5 separate regions of the Homo sapiens genome follow, and all the other regions are linked to region 1. Evidence: promoter capture Hi-C in human tissues and cell types (Jung and others, 2019). All regions are on one chromosome and are shown on one strand. The core of a region is centred on a gene start or on the middle of the fragment in contact, and the rest is flanking DNA. Distances in the headings are between cores, read along the strand shown. Region 1 holds the start of PITPNA (phosphatidylinositol transfer protein alpha). Region 2 has its middle 34 kb from the start of ABR-AS1. Region 3 overlaps RPA1 (replication protein A1). Region 4 overlaps TRARG1 (trafficking regulator of GLUT4 (SLC2A4) 1 (gene/pseudogene)). Region 5 holds the start of SMYD4 (SET and MYND domain containing 4).

Region 1 (2,655 bases), core at 64-2,563:
TCCACCCAACCACTAGAGTGAGCCTTCGCCCAGGACACCCGCTCATGTCACTGCTCAGAGCCCTTACATGCCCTCCCACCGCCCTTAGGGTGGACTCCAAATACCTTATCATCGTTCACCAGGAACCCTCCCCTATTGAGCTGCTCAGCCCTGAAATGTTCTGTTCCACTCACTTGTCAGTTCTCCAAATGCACCATGCTCTCCCTCTTGCCTCCAGCCTTTGCATTCACTCTGCCTGCTATGCTCTTCTCCGAAGCCCTCTGCAGATCTGAGAATCTCTTCCTCCAGGAAGCCTTCCCTGACTACATCCCTGACGCTCAATTAGGTGCCCCTCCGTGTAATGCCGCTAAGCCTGTGTCTCATTTCTCACAGCCCTTTTCATTCTTTTTTTTTTTTTTTTTTTTGATGCAGAGTCTCGCTCTGTCGCCCCAGCTGGAGTGCAATGGTGCGATCTCGGCTCACTGCAACCTCCGCCTCCAGGGTTCAAGCGATTCTCCTGCCTCATCCTCCCGAGCAGCTGGGACTACCACCACCACGTCCACCACCACGCCCGGCTAATTTTTGTACTTTTAGTAGAGATGGGGTTTCGCCATCTGGTCTGGAACTCCTGACCTCAGGTGATGCGCCCGCCTGAGTGCTGCATTACAGGCATGATGTGCCTGGGATTACTGCCAGGAGCCACCGCGCCCGGCCTCACAGCCCTTTTCTTTTCTTTTTTTTTTTTTTGAGACGAAGTTTCACTCTTGTCCCCCAGGCTGGAGTGCAATGGCGCGATCGCGATCTCGGCTCACTGCAAACTCTGCCTCCCGGTACAAGCGATTCTCCCGCCTCAGCCTCCCGTGTAGCTGGGATTACAGGTGCGTGCCTCCACGCCCAGCTAATTTTTGTATTTTTAGTAGAGACGGGGTTTCATCATGTTGGCCAGGCTGGTCTCGAACTCCTGACCTCAGGTGATCCGCCCGCCTCGGCCTCCCAAGGTGCAAGGATTACAGGCGTGGGCCACCGCGCGCGGCTATTAATATTTTTTGAAACAACCTTTTCCTGGGTCTCAATTCCCTCAACCGGGGAGGCCCCCCAGCCAGCACCCGCGTGCATCCGTGGCGGTTCACACCGAGGACGGTGACGGACACCCTAGTCTGCTCCGCCTTCTGCCGGGTCTGGCCCCAGCCGCGGGGCCCCACCTCGGAACCGACAGCGCCGCCGCGGCCCACTTAAGGACGGGAGGGCGGGCCTGGGAAGGCTCGGCCCCGCGTGACGTCAGCGCGCACCGCGGCGTGTGACGCTCTGGTTGCCGCAGAGACGCCCCGCCCCCGCGCGGCGCTGCGGAACCGGAGCTCCGGGCGGCGTCGGCAGCGGCGCGAGAGGCGACGAGGCCCGGGCGGCAGGAGCCGGCGCGGCGACCGCGGCGAGGGCGGCGGGGACGGAGCAGAGCACGACGAAGACGCACAGGCAGCCGGGCCGGGCCGGGCCACGGGGAGAGCGGCCGGCGGGCAGCGGGCGGGAGGCCGGGCGGGCCGCGGGCAGCCACCGAGCCGCGAAGCGACATGGTGCTGCTCAAGGAGTAGTGAGTGTCCGGCGGCCGTGCGGAAGCGGGGAGGAGGGAGGGTGGGGACGGCCGCCGGGGCGACGGCGCGGCGAGGGACGCAGGGCCCGGATGGACGGAGGGGCAGCAGGGACGGAGGGTGCCTGAGGCGGGCCCAGCGGGGATGGAGGGGATCCGGGGCGGGCGGCACGTGAGGCGGGGCCCACGGGGCACGGAGGGGCGGCCGGGGCGTGGAGGGGCGGCCGGGGCGTGGAGGGGCAGCCGGGGCGTTCGGCATCTGAGCCGGGGCCCACGGGGCATGGACGGGCAGCCGGGGCATGGAGGGGCCCACGGGCACGGAGGGACAACCCGGGCGGACGGCTCCTCAGGCGCCCCGGGGGCCTCGGAGGCCCAAGTGGACCCGAGGAGAGGCCGGGGACAGCGAGGGCGAGGCCAGGCCCGAGACGGGGTCAGGGCAGGGAGAGCTGGCCCGGGACTGGGGGAGGCCGAGGGGACGCCGAGCGCTGGGAGTGCTGTGGGGTCGCTCTGCGCGGGCCGAGGGCGCGGGCTCAGCCGGGACTGCAGGCGGCGCTGAGAGGCCCCGCGGCGGCCGAGGAAGAGGCGCACCGGGGCAGGCAGGGCCTCCCGGCGGTGGGGAAAGGTGGAGGGCCGAACAGTTCACACGGAGAGCCGGGTGGATGGGTCAGAGGCTCCGCGATGGAGTTGGGATGGGGATGGGGAGGAGTGGCCGCCTTAGGCATCGGGTGAGGGGTGGTGGTAAGTGGACACAGGAGGAGGACTAGGAAGTCAGGGCCTGGCTGGGGAGACAGGTGAAGGGTCTGAGGACATGCAGAGGGGGCTGAGATGCGGGCCGGAGTAACCGTGGTGCCCAAGCAGCTGGTGCGGAAGAGGAGGCTTTTGGAACAAGCTTGGGATGACTGCTTGGGACGTGGGGAGACTTGGGCGAGGAGGCCAGAAAATGTTGGGTAGGGTCCGAAGTGGAGAAGGCCGGGAAGTTACCGGGGTCGAGGCTGGTCCGGAAAGAGAGTATGTTGGGATGAGTATACCTGCCGTTGGAGATGGGGGAGACCAGGGCAGGGCCAGCTTGTTTCTAGGGGATTCTCAGTCTTGGT
Region 2 (2,655 bases), core at 61-2,560, 350 kb after region 1:
CCATTTAAAACCAGGTTTTACCTAGCAATCTGGATTTCTGGATTTTCTTGAAAGATGGGAAGATGGGCAATGTGAATGGGAGGCATTAGTTAGAGCCGACGGGCCCCTTCAGGCTGGACGTGATTTTGCCAATGGCGTCAGCTTTCCTCTGGCCCCTTTCTCCACTTCTGACGTGAGAGGAGTGAGTCTAGTGCAGGGAACAGAGGAAGACTCGGAGCTGGGTTTGCGGCTGCCTCTGCTACTCACTCCTGCGTGACTCTAGGCAAATGACACAGCCCCTGTGGGCCCCGCTCTCCTCCTCTGGAGCAGGGGGTTATAACAGCTTCCCTACCTCGCAGATTTGTGAGAACTGAGCAAGTTGATATAAGGGCTGAGCCTGGCACATAGTAAGTTCTATTTAGGTGTTCAGTTTCTTTCTTTTTTTTTTTAGTATTTATTGATCATTCTTGGGTGTTTCTCGGAGAGGGGGATTTGGCAGGGTCATAGGACAATAGTGGAGGGAAGGTCAGCAGATAAACAAGTGAACAAAGGTCTCTGGTTTTCCTAGGCAGAGGACCCTGCGGCCTTCCGCAGTGTTTGTGTCCCTGGGTACTTGAGATTAGGGATTGGTGATGACTCTTAACGAGCACGCTGCCTTCAAGCATCTGTTTAACAAAGCACATCTTGCACCGCCCTTAATCCATTTACCCTGAGTGGACACAGCACATGTTTCAGAGAGCACGGGGGTTGGGGGTAAGGTCACAGATCAACAGGATCCCAAGGCAGAAGATTTTCTCCCAGTACAGAACAAAATGGAGTCTCCTATGTCCACCTCTTTCTACACAGACACAGCAACAATCCGATTTCTCCTTCTTTTCCCCACATTTCCCCCTTTTCTATTCGACAAAACCGCCATCGTCATCATGGCCCGTTCTCAATGAGCTGCTGGGTACACCTCCCAGACGGGGTGGCGGCCGGGCAGAGGCTGCACTCTGGGCACTTTGGGAGGCCAAGGCAGGCGGCTAGGAGGTGGAGGTTATAGTGAGCCGAGATCACGCCACTGCACTCCAGCCTGGGCACCATTGAGCACTCAGTGAACGAGACTCCGTCCGCAATCCCGGCACCTCGGGAGGCCGAGGCTGGCAGATCACTCGCGGCTAGGAGCTGGAGACCAGCCCGGCCAACACAGCGAAACCCCGTCTCCACCAAAAAAATACGAAAACCAGTCAGGCATGGCAGCGCGCGCCTGCAATCGCAGGCACTCGGCAGGCTGAGGCAGGAGAATCAGGCAGGGAGCTTGCAGTGAGCCGAGATGGCAGCAGTACAGTCCAGCTTCGGCTCGGCATCAGAGGGAGACCGTGGAGAGAGAGGGAGAGGGAGAGCTCTTTCTTTTCTTTTTTTTTTTTTTGAGACAGAGTCTTGCTCTGTCACCCAGGCTAGAGTGTAGTGGGGAGATCTAGGCTCACTGCAATCTCTGCCTCCTGGGTTCAAGTGATTCTCCTGCCTCAGCCTCCTGAGTAGTTGGGACTACAGGCACACACCATCACGCCTACCTAATTTCTGTATGTTTTGTAGAAATGGGGTTTTGCCATGTTGCCCAGGGTGGTCTTAAACACCTGGACTCAAGCAATCTGCCTGCCTCCACCTCCTAAAGTGCTGGGACTATAGGCGTGAGCCACCCCACCTGGTCAAGAGCAATACTTTTTTGGTCTGAGTATTTTATTTGGAGAGAAATAGAACTTGGCCATTGAGCTTATATACACCGAGATAGCTGCCACATTACAGGGAAAAACTATGTACAATCAAATATATATATTTTTTTCTTTGAGGTGGAGTTTCGCTCTTGTTGCCTAGGCTGGAGTGCAGTGGCACGATCTTGGCTCGCTGCAACATCCGCCTCCCAGGTTCAAGCGATTCTCCTGCCTCAGCCTCCCGAGTAGCTGGGATTACAGGCATGTGCCACTACGCCTGGCTAATTTTGTATTTTTAGTAGAGATGGGGTTTCTCCATGTTGGTCAAGCTGGTCTCGAACTCCTGACGTCAGGTGATCTACCTGCCTCAGCCTCCCAAAGTGCTGGGATTACAGGCATGAGCCACTGCACCCGGCCAGGATCAGAATTTTTATATTCAAATCTTAAATCTCTCCTTTATATTCCTTTAAATTGCTATTAACTGTAGATATTCAGCATTGTTAGGGTAATTTAAACTTGTTAAGGAATAATTTAAATATTTTGCCTAAGTCATCCCTGGGGTGGTGGTTACTCATGGAGAGGAAATATATATATATACACACACATCCTAGTATCATAGATTCCAAAAACTGATGAAAGCCAAAATAAATGTTCATTTTAGGTTGAAGGGACCTGAAGTTAGCTTATCTTTAGGTTTAAGGTGGTGGTGGGGGGCGGGGAAGTCCAAGTCCTGTGTAACATTTCACATCTCAGGCCGGGAGCGGTGGCTCATGCCTGTAATCCCAGCACTTTGGGAGCCCGAGGCGGGTGGATCACAAGATCAGGAGTTCGAGACCAGCCTGACCAACATGATGAAACCTCTTCTCTACTAAAAATACAAAATTAGCCGGGCGTGGTGGCGGGCGCCTGTAATCCCAGCTACTCGGGAGGCTGAGGCAGGAGAATCACTTGAACCCGGGAGGCGGAGGATGCAGTGAGCCGAGAT
Region 3 (2,655 bases), core at 75-2,574, 320 kb before region 1:
TGCAAATCAAGGAGTAATTTTGACTTTTTAAGTCTAAGAGACATATTTCATGAGGCGATAGTTGCCACAGTGATTCCTCTGATGGATCTGGGGAAAGTAAATTGAAAACCTGAAAAGGATTCACCATTCTAGATGCTATTAAGAACAGTTGGCTGGGCACAGTCGCTCACACCTGTAACTCCTGGCACTTTGAGAGGTTGAGGCAGGGAGATCCCTTGAGCCCAGGAGTTTGAGAGCAGCCTGGGCAACATGACACAACTCAGTCTCTACAAAAAATACAATTAGCCAGGTGTGGCAGCACCTGTAGTCCCAGCTTGGGAGCCTGGGGAGGTTGAGACTGCAGTGAGCTGTGATCAAGCCAGTGCACTCCAGCCTGAGTGACAGAATGAGACCCTGTCTCAAGTTAAAAAAAAAAGGAACATTCATGATTCATGGGAGGAGATCAAAATCCCAACATCAACGGGAGTTTGGAACAAGTTGATTCCAACCCTCAAGGTAGACACTGAGGCTTCAAGACTTTGGTGGAGGAGGGATCTGTAGATGTGACGAAAATAACGAGAGAACTAGAATTACAAATGGAGCCTGAAAATGGGCCTGAACTGCTGTAATCTCACGATCAAACTTGAACGGATAAGGAGCTGCTCCTTACGATGGGCAAGGAAAGTGCTTTCTTGAGATGAAATCTCTTGTGGTGAGAACGCTGTGAGCATTGTTGAAATGACGACAAAGGATTTAGAATTTGCATAAGCTTGGCTGATAAAGCAGTGACAGGACCTGAGAGGGAGAGACTCCAGTTTGAAAAAGTTCTCCTGTGGGTAAAATGCTGTCAAACAGCATCGCCGGCTATGGAGAAAGCTTTTGTGAAAGGAAGAGTCAACCAATGTGGCACACTTCACTGCTGTCTTATTTTAAGAAACTGCCAAAGACACGCCGATGTTCAGCAACCATCGCCGTGACTGCTCAGCCATCAACCCTGAAACAAACCCCCACCAGCAAGAAGATTACGACTCAGATGATTGTCAGCATTTTTCAGCAATAAAGTTTTTGTTTCAAGAGAAGGGGTCTTCCATGTTGCTCAGTCGAACTCCTGGGCTCATGTAATCCACCTGCCTCAGCCTCCTGGGTAGCTGGGATTACAGAGAACCGAAAGAGTGGGTGTCCCATGACAGGACAACGAGGATCTGTCCAGTGTTTAATTCTTGAGATGTTCTATAAGAGCACTTAAGAGCTGCTGTTGACAATGATGGATAAGGGTATACAGTGAAATGAGACAGGAGGAATGAAACCTACACTGTATATGATGAAAATAAAAGAGCAGGCGTAAAGGAGAAATAAATGATCTAAATACTAAACTGCTGGCAGAACACAGGCTTAGATCAAGATGGGAGGAGGGTCATTAAATACAAACACTGAAAGGAAAAAGCTGCAACTAAAAGTCAAATGTCAGGGCCAATCCTTGTCCGGGAATGCCGGCAGCTCTCAGCCTATGAGGTTAATACACTATTCTACAGCCAGGAACAGCACCCGTGAAACTGCCTCATGTCTGACCTGAGGCGGACTAACGCTCATCTCAAAAAACATCTTTTTGATATGTGGGCGCTTAAATTTGCAGGAAGGATCACAGGAAAGAAACGTGGACCCGAAAGCAGGTGATATTATACCACAAAGCTTGACTGTCACCCCTGCTCCAAGATCCCTCTAGGAATTGACTCTAAGAGTTCTTCAGACTCTCCTGCCTCCAGTCCCCTGAGGGGTAACACATATTCCCATGAGCACACCTGGCTGCTTCCCTCTGCCAGTGATTCTCAACCCCCATGCCACGCTCAGGTCACAGCCCCGGGTAAGAATTACGGCTCTGACAGCTGGTGCTGGAAACCAAGTTTCTAAATCCATCCTTCTGCACACTTTACAGCCCTTTGTGAAGGTGGTTAGGAATGCTGGGTACCTTGTCGCCTTGGCCCAGGTTCTCGGATTTGACCTCATACAAGGTTTTCCAGTTGGTGTTACTCCCTCCGACTCCGCCGCTCTTTAGATCAGAGATGGAAACACCATCTAAGGCTTGTCCTTCTGCGTCAAACCTGAAAACGTGAACGAATAACGATGACGAGCGCTTGATGTGACATGCTTCTGCTTCTCCACATGCAACTTGCTGCTACGCGACAGACACAGGTTTCCCACCACCCGCCCAGCTTTCACACAGGTCACGGTCATGTCGGCTGAAGCTGGTATCTTCGTAATTATATATTTTTTATAATATTTAAATTAAAAAAAATTGTGTCAGAGTTTCACTCTGTCACCCAGGCTGGAGTGCAATGATGCAATCATGGCTCAAGGCAGCTTTGACCCCCTGAGCTCAGTGATCCTCCCACCTTTGCCCTGCTAAGTAACTGGGACTTCCATGCCCAGGCCCATTAAAAAAATTTTTTTTAGGCTGGGCGCAGTGGCTCATGCCTGTAACCCCAGCATTTTGGGAGGATGAGGCGGGCGGATCACGAGGTCAAGAGATCAAGACTATCCTGGCCAACATGGTGAAACCCCGTCTCTACTAAAAATACAAAATTAGCCGGGCGTGGTGGTGGGTGCCTGTAATCCCAGCTACTCGGGAGGCTGAGGCAGGAGAATCACTTGTAGGCAATTCTCAGGAGGCGGAGGTTG
Region 4 (2,655 bases), core at 81-2,580, 260 kb after region 1:
ACGCCACTGCACTCCAGCCTGGACAACGAGAGCGAAACTCTGTCTCAAAAAACAAAACAAAACAAAAGTGTGTAAGGACACATGTACATCATATTTTTCAGTTCAATCAATGTTCGTTTTGAAGCTTGTCAGCTTCAACATATTGGTCAGGCTGGTCTCAAACTGGTGGCCTCAGGTGATCCGCCCGCCTCAGCCTCCCAAAGTGCTGGGAGCAGTTACAGGGTGTGGAAACAGTCAGCTCCCTTGGCAGAGCCCGCAGGCTTTTATGGTCTGGAGAGGCCCCTGTCACCGAGGCACGCTTCTCAAGGACTGTCCTGCTCTACTGGCTCCTGACTGTATGACCTTGGCTAAGCCCCTGGATCGCCTGAGTTTTATTTCTTCCCAGGAAAATGGGAGGATCCCTCGTGGAAGTGTTGTGAGGATTAAATGAGGTAATTCCAGCGGAGCAGGGAGCCCCGCGCCTGGCACACAGGAAGCGGCGCCGTGGCCTCCAGTCTGGATGGAAGGAGCTTCCGCTCACAGGGATCCTGCAACCTGGGAGGCTCCTGGTTGCTGGGGCCCCTCCCTCCCTCCTTCTACAGACTTGTCCTCAGCACCTGCTACGTGCCAGGCTCTGTACTGAACCCTGGGGACGCAGACACTTAGGGCAGGCTTCCTGGACCATGTGACTCCGACCTAAAGAAAACGCTCTAGGAAGGCAGAGAGTTGGTTGTTGGGGGTGGCAGTGAGTGTCCCAGTAGTGAGGCCAGCAGGGTGGGGAACCTGGTGGTCTAGGGACTGTCCCAGGAGGTCTGGGAGCCAGGAGCAGGAACATGGCTCAGCTCACTGCAGCTCCAACTTCTCTGACTCAAGTGATCTTCCCACCTCAGCTTCCTGAGTAGCTGGGACCTCAGGCGTGCAGCACCACGCCTGGCTGATTTTTAAATGTTTTCTAGAGACAGAGTCTCCTCATGTTGCAGGCTGGTCTCGAACTCTTGCCTGCCCTCTTCTCTCCAGGCCTGAGATCTATGCAGAAAGGACTGAAGGGAGATGAGACTGGCATTACCACTTATTTTACAGTTGGACAAACTGAGTCCCGGAGTGGACAAGTGACTTGCCCAGAGGAACGCCTTGAGTTGGCCACGGAGCCCCGATGTGCCAGGTTCCCAGTGCGCAGCCTCAGCCTGACCCTGGGGCCACAGGCGGAGTGGACTGCTCACCCCCGGATTGTTTGGAACCCCCTTGACCCCAGCAGCACAAACACACAGGCCAGAGGCGAGCACGTACATTCAGGTTTATTTATTTCCATGCTAAGACACACAGCGGCGTCACTGGTGTAGATGGTGAAGGCAGTGTGGGGTGGGTCTTGCTACTCCCTGTGGGACACAGGGAGAGGCTGGGTTAGTGCGTTAAGCCGGGCCACTGTGTTCATGCAGGTGGCGGCTAGAACCAAGATGGAGCCGGGACAGCAGGGCCACTGACCCCTCTGGCCTCCAGGCGGCGTGGGGCACGGGCTGTGGGGACCCTCCGTCCAGGTCCCCTGGTGTCCAGAATGGCTTTCTCCTCCAGGGCCCAAGCCCTTCTCCTGCTCTGTGCTCTGCGGGCCTCCGCCTCCTACACACACCTCGGGGGCCTCTGAGCTCTGTCCCTGGTGCCCTAGGAAACTCTCAAGTTATCCTCGCCTGCCTGGAAGAGCGCCCTGGCTGTGCTGTGCCCATTCCAGGGGCATCTGCAGTGGCTTCCCCTAAGCGGTGGCTGTGGCTGTCCTGGGTTCTGAGTGTGAACAAGCGTGTGTGTGTGTGTGTGTGTGTGTAGGAGTGCACGGCAGAGCCTATTTGTGTGGGTGTGAGAAGGTCTGGGCATGTGTGGCACTCCGAGGGCACCTAGAGTCCCTTCGGGTGTCATGTTCCTCCCGTGACAATCCCTCAACCATCGGTTCGTTTCTGTCCTCTCCCTGGGTTGCTGAGGCTGAGGACCCCGGGGGCCTGCCGGGAAAACGCCCACTCATCATCCCTCCTTCCAGAGCCAGAGCCTGTGCGTGGCCAGTTCCATCGACCTCGCCTCTCCCCTGTGTGACGTGACTTCACGAGGGACAGAAATACTCCGTGCTCACACCCTCCCCCAGCAAACAGGAGCATCTGTTTTGGTCTCAAAGATCCCATAAAGCAAACCCAACCAGTCCCTTCTGTATGAGCAGGAGAGGCTGGAGTTTATTCCCCAGGTGGGGACTGACGTAGGAACACCAGCCCCAAAGGACCAGCCCGGGCCCCCTGAGCCCTGCACCCCTGCCCTCTAGCAGTCACACGGGCTGTGGAAGGCTCAGAGCTCCAGCTGTGCATAGACCCAGGGCCCCTCCCTGTAGACAGAACCTCTGTACTGACCTGCTCTTCCCTTCCCCGGGCCTCTGAGGAGGGTGGGGAGGCGAACAAGGGCCTGGAGAGGAGGCAGGAGGGTCCTGATGGGACAAAGGATGCTGACTTCAACAGCTTTGGGCCACTCTGGGTGTGGCTGGGAGCCCTTCCCATGAAGGCATTGACTCTGGCTGTGAGGTGGGGCTGCCCAGGGCAGGAAAGCCTGGAGGTCTCCAGGGCCTGGGAGCTGCGGTCAGGAGGGTGGGCGGGGGCAGGAGAGGTGCCTGTGGCTGGAGCCTGGGCCAGGGAGAAGTGTAGGGAAAAT
Region 5 (2,655 bases), core at 43-2,542, 270 kb before region 1:
AAACCCTCTGAAGCATGGAATAAGCAGACAGATGACGGAAGTTTGTCTTTTAGAGTAAAGGTGGCTCTGTACAAAGAAATTTGTGAGCAACTGACATATATTAATAGATGGCAATGGAATTGCCTTGGGGCCAGGCGCGGTGGTTCATGCCTGTAATTCCAGCATTTTGGGAGGCCGAGGCGGGCGGATAACTTGAGGTCTGGTGTTCGAGATCAGCCTGGCCAACATGATGAAACCCAGTCTCTAATAAAAACACAAAAAGTAGCCGAGTGTGGTGGCGCACACATGTAGTCCCAGCTACTCGGGAGGCTGAGACAGGAGACTCACTTGCACCCGGGAGACGGAGGTTGCAGTGAGCCGAGATCGCGCCTCTGCACTCCAGCCTGGGCGACAGTGAGTGTCGCCCAGGCTGGAGAAAAAAAAAGAAATTGCCTCGGGAGTCAAGAGGGCCTAGAGGGAGCCTTGATTCAACAAAAATTTACAAAGAGGGACTTACAAATAAGACGGGGATAGACCTGCCAAGCTGAGCCACTAAAAACCAAGGAAGAGGGTGTGACCTGAAGCAAGCAGGGCTTAAACGCAAACGCTGCTGAGAACTCAGGTAAGCTGAAAACGGAAAAGGGCTGGATTTAGCAACTTGGAGGCCACTGGTACCTTCAGCCAGGGTTTTCTACAGCGATCAAAGGGATGACTGGAGTGGGTTAAAGAGTTGATGAAAGGCGAGGAAAGGAAGTGGCTGAAACCAGACAAGAAGTTTGGCTGTGGGTGGGGAAAGGAGAAGAGACAGAAAGTGTCCGCAGGTGGAAGATGCAGAGAAAGGCAAGCGTTTATTTAGTTTGTTCTTACGTAGGAAAAATGTGAGCATGTTTTAAAGACGATCGAAAGAATGCTTTGAGGAGGGGGCGATGACACTAGAGGGACGCCCGGCGGGTCCCCACCGCCCCCCGCCATCTCCTCCCCTCGCGTTCATCCCCCGTCGCCCCGGGCTCCCCTCCCCCTCTCTACTCCGCGAGGCTCGGGGCCGCAGCCACCCCGGACCGCCGGCCCAGCCCCCGGCACCTCCTCACCGCAATGGCCCCCTCGCTCAGTTGGCCGACCATGGCTCCACCGCCAAGACTTCCCCGCGGACCCCGCAACAGCTCCAGCTTCCCCACCCGGGTCCCGCGCGCTGCGCAGTTATTGGCCCGAGAAGTTGCGCGCACCGCTCCCGCCCCCGACGTGCGCGCGGCTCAGGGGCGGGCCCGGGCGCTACGCAGCCGCCGCATTGGCCGAGGCGCGGCCCACGTGACCCACCCATGGTCCCAAGCGAGGCCTGGCGCGGGACGCCGGACGCGGTGCGGGGCGGAGCGGGGCGCCAAGGGGCGCGCCAGGAGCTGCGCGGGCGCTGGGAGGGAGACCAGGGCGCAGTTCCGGGCGCGTCTGAGCGGTTCTCGAGGCGTTCTCGCCTCGGTCTCTGGCGAGTGCACGGGTTGGTATCCCAGAGGAGGTTAAAGCTGTTCCTTGAGACCTCCGCTGCTAAATAGAGTCGCAGTAGTGACCCGATTCGTCCAGCAACGCGGGGCTGACTTCCCGCCTCCAAGCCCTGAGCTTGGCACCGTGGCGGTGGGGGGTGGGGGTGGGGGGTCTCCGAAAGGGAATCAGACCCGGCCCCCGTCCTTAGAGAAGAGGACAGTGTGTGGGGGCACTTTATGCCGTCAGTAACCCCACCTCCAGGTAGACGTGGTACAGGCCCCAAGGGTGTTGGAATCACAGCTGGGAAATCAGGGACGCCGTCCCGGAGGAGGTGCCATTTGAGCCGAGTCGAAGAACGTGTGGGAATTTTCCAGGTGGACTCCATAAGCCAGGGTAGGGTTGGTCCGGAAAGCATGAGTAGCCTATGCCAAAACATTGGAGAGTTGAAATAGCCTGGCAAGCCGGGGATAGCAATGAGTTGTTCAGTATGCAAGGGTGCATGCAGAGGAGTAAGTGACACCTGAGAATTAGAAAGTCAGACAAGGGTCAAGTAAGGATGGTTTTGTCCTGGGCTTCCTGGTATGCTTGGAGTAGCGTTGATGAATTTAAGGGCAGAGCACTGACTTCTGTCTCAGTGTTGGAGGCTGGATTGAAAGTGGGGAGTGGTGCCAATGGCATGGACATTAATTATAACACTCTAGGAAGAATGCCAGACGAGATGGTGAGGACTTAATCAGAACGCTGAACTATGTAAGAGAGGGAAATACCTTGTTAAATGAATAGTTGCTGGGGTGGGTGAGAAAGAAAAATCTGGGATGTGTCTCAGAGAAACTAGAGAGGGATCAGGCCGGGCGCGGTGGCTCACGCCTGTAATCCCAGCGCTTTGGGAGGCCAAGGCTGGCGGATCATCTGAGGTCAGGAGTTCGAGACCAGCCTGGCCAACATGGTGAAACCCCGTCTCTACTAAAAATACAAAAATTAGCCGGGCGTAGTTGCGCGCATCTGTAATCCCAGCTACTCGGAGGCTGAGGCAGGAGAATTGCTTGAACCTGGGAGGCGGAGGGTGCAGTGAGCCGAGATGGTGCCACTGCACTCCAGCCTGGGTGACAGAGCAAGACTCTGCCTCACAAAAAAAAAAAAAAGAGGATCTAAGAGCACAGATGGTAGCTATCTAGTCTGCTTCGTCTTTGTATAACCATCACC

What was found. Contacts are between HindIII fragments. The study calls those that stand out against the background at their distance.
Region 2: a contact is called between a fragment that was not itself captured here and the fragment with the promoter of PITPNA in region 1, in 3 of the 25 tissues and cell types used here (dorsolateral prefrontal cortex, lymphoblastoid cells and spleen).
Region 3: a fragment that was not itself captured here is called in contact with the fragment with the promoter of PITPNA in region 1 in 2 of the 25 tissues and cell types used here (dorsolateral prefrontal cortex and mesenchymal stem cells).
Region 4: a fragment that was not itself captured here is called in contact with the fragment with the promoter of PITPNA in region 1 in 4 of the 25 tissues and cell types used here (dorsolateral prefrontal cortex, lymphoblastoid cells, mesenchymal stem cells and 1 more).
Region 5: a contact is called between the fragment with the promoter of SMYD4 here and the fragment with the promoter of PITPNA in region 1, in 1 of the 25 tissues and cell types used here (dorsolateral prefrontal cortex).

The regions. Positions count from the first base shown.
Region 1 is chr17:1,561,450-1,564,104 of GRCh38, reverse strand. It overlaps PITPNA (phosphatidylinositol transfer protein alpha), which reads left to right and starts at 1,313. Exons shown (of 12, transcript NM_006224.4): 1 at 1,313-1,564. The coding sequence starts at 1,545. RefSeq lists silencers at 1,141-1,420, 1,491-1,540, 2,021-2,150 and enhancers at 993-1,492, 2,261-2,360. The HindIII fragment of the contact is 13,696 bases long and covers 1-2,655 here.
Region 2 is chr17:1,213,952-1,216,606 of GRCh38, reverse strand. It overlaps a transcript of ABR not described here. Among named protein-coding and RNA genes, the nearest start is that of ABR-AS1, 34 kb to the right of the region's middle. RefSeq lists an enhancer at 1-260. The HindIII fragment of the contact is 9,567 bases long and covers 1-2,655 here.
Region 3 is chr17:1,883,235-1,885,889 of GRCh38, reverse strand. It overlaps RPA1 (replication protein A1), which reads right to left. Exons shown (of 17, transcript NM_002945.5): 13 at 1,946-2,078. Among named protein-coding and RNA genes, the nearest start is that of RPA1, 55 kb to the right of the region's middle. The HindIII fragment of the contact is 3,595 bases long and covers 1-2,655 here.
Region 4 is chr17:1,299,587-1,302,241 of GRCh38, reverse strand. It overlaps TRARG1 (trafficking regulator of GLUT4 (SLC2A4) 1 (gene/pseudogene)), which reads right to left. Exons shown (of 3, transcript NM_172367.3): 3 at 1,264-2,655. Among named protein-coding and RNA genes, the nearest start is that of TRARG1, 21 kb to the right of the region's middle. The HindIII fragment of the contact is 5,551 bases long and covers 1-2,655 here.
Region 5 is chr17:1,828,539-1,831,193 of GRCh38, reverse strand. It overlaps SMYD4 (SET and MYND domain containing 4), which reads left to right and starts at 1,292. Exons shown (of 11, transcript NM_052928.3): 1 at 1,292-1,468. It overlaps RPA1 (replication protein A1), which reads right to left and starts at 1,189. Exons shown (of 17, transcript NM_002945.5): 1 at 1,068-1,189. The coding sequence starts at 1,100. RefSeq lists an enhancer at 1-293 and a silencer at 921-1,440. The HindIII fragment of the contact is 28,265 bases long and covers 1-2,655 here.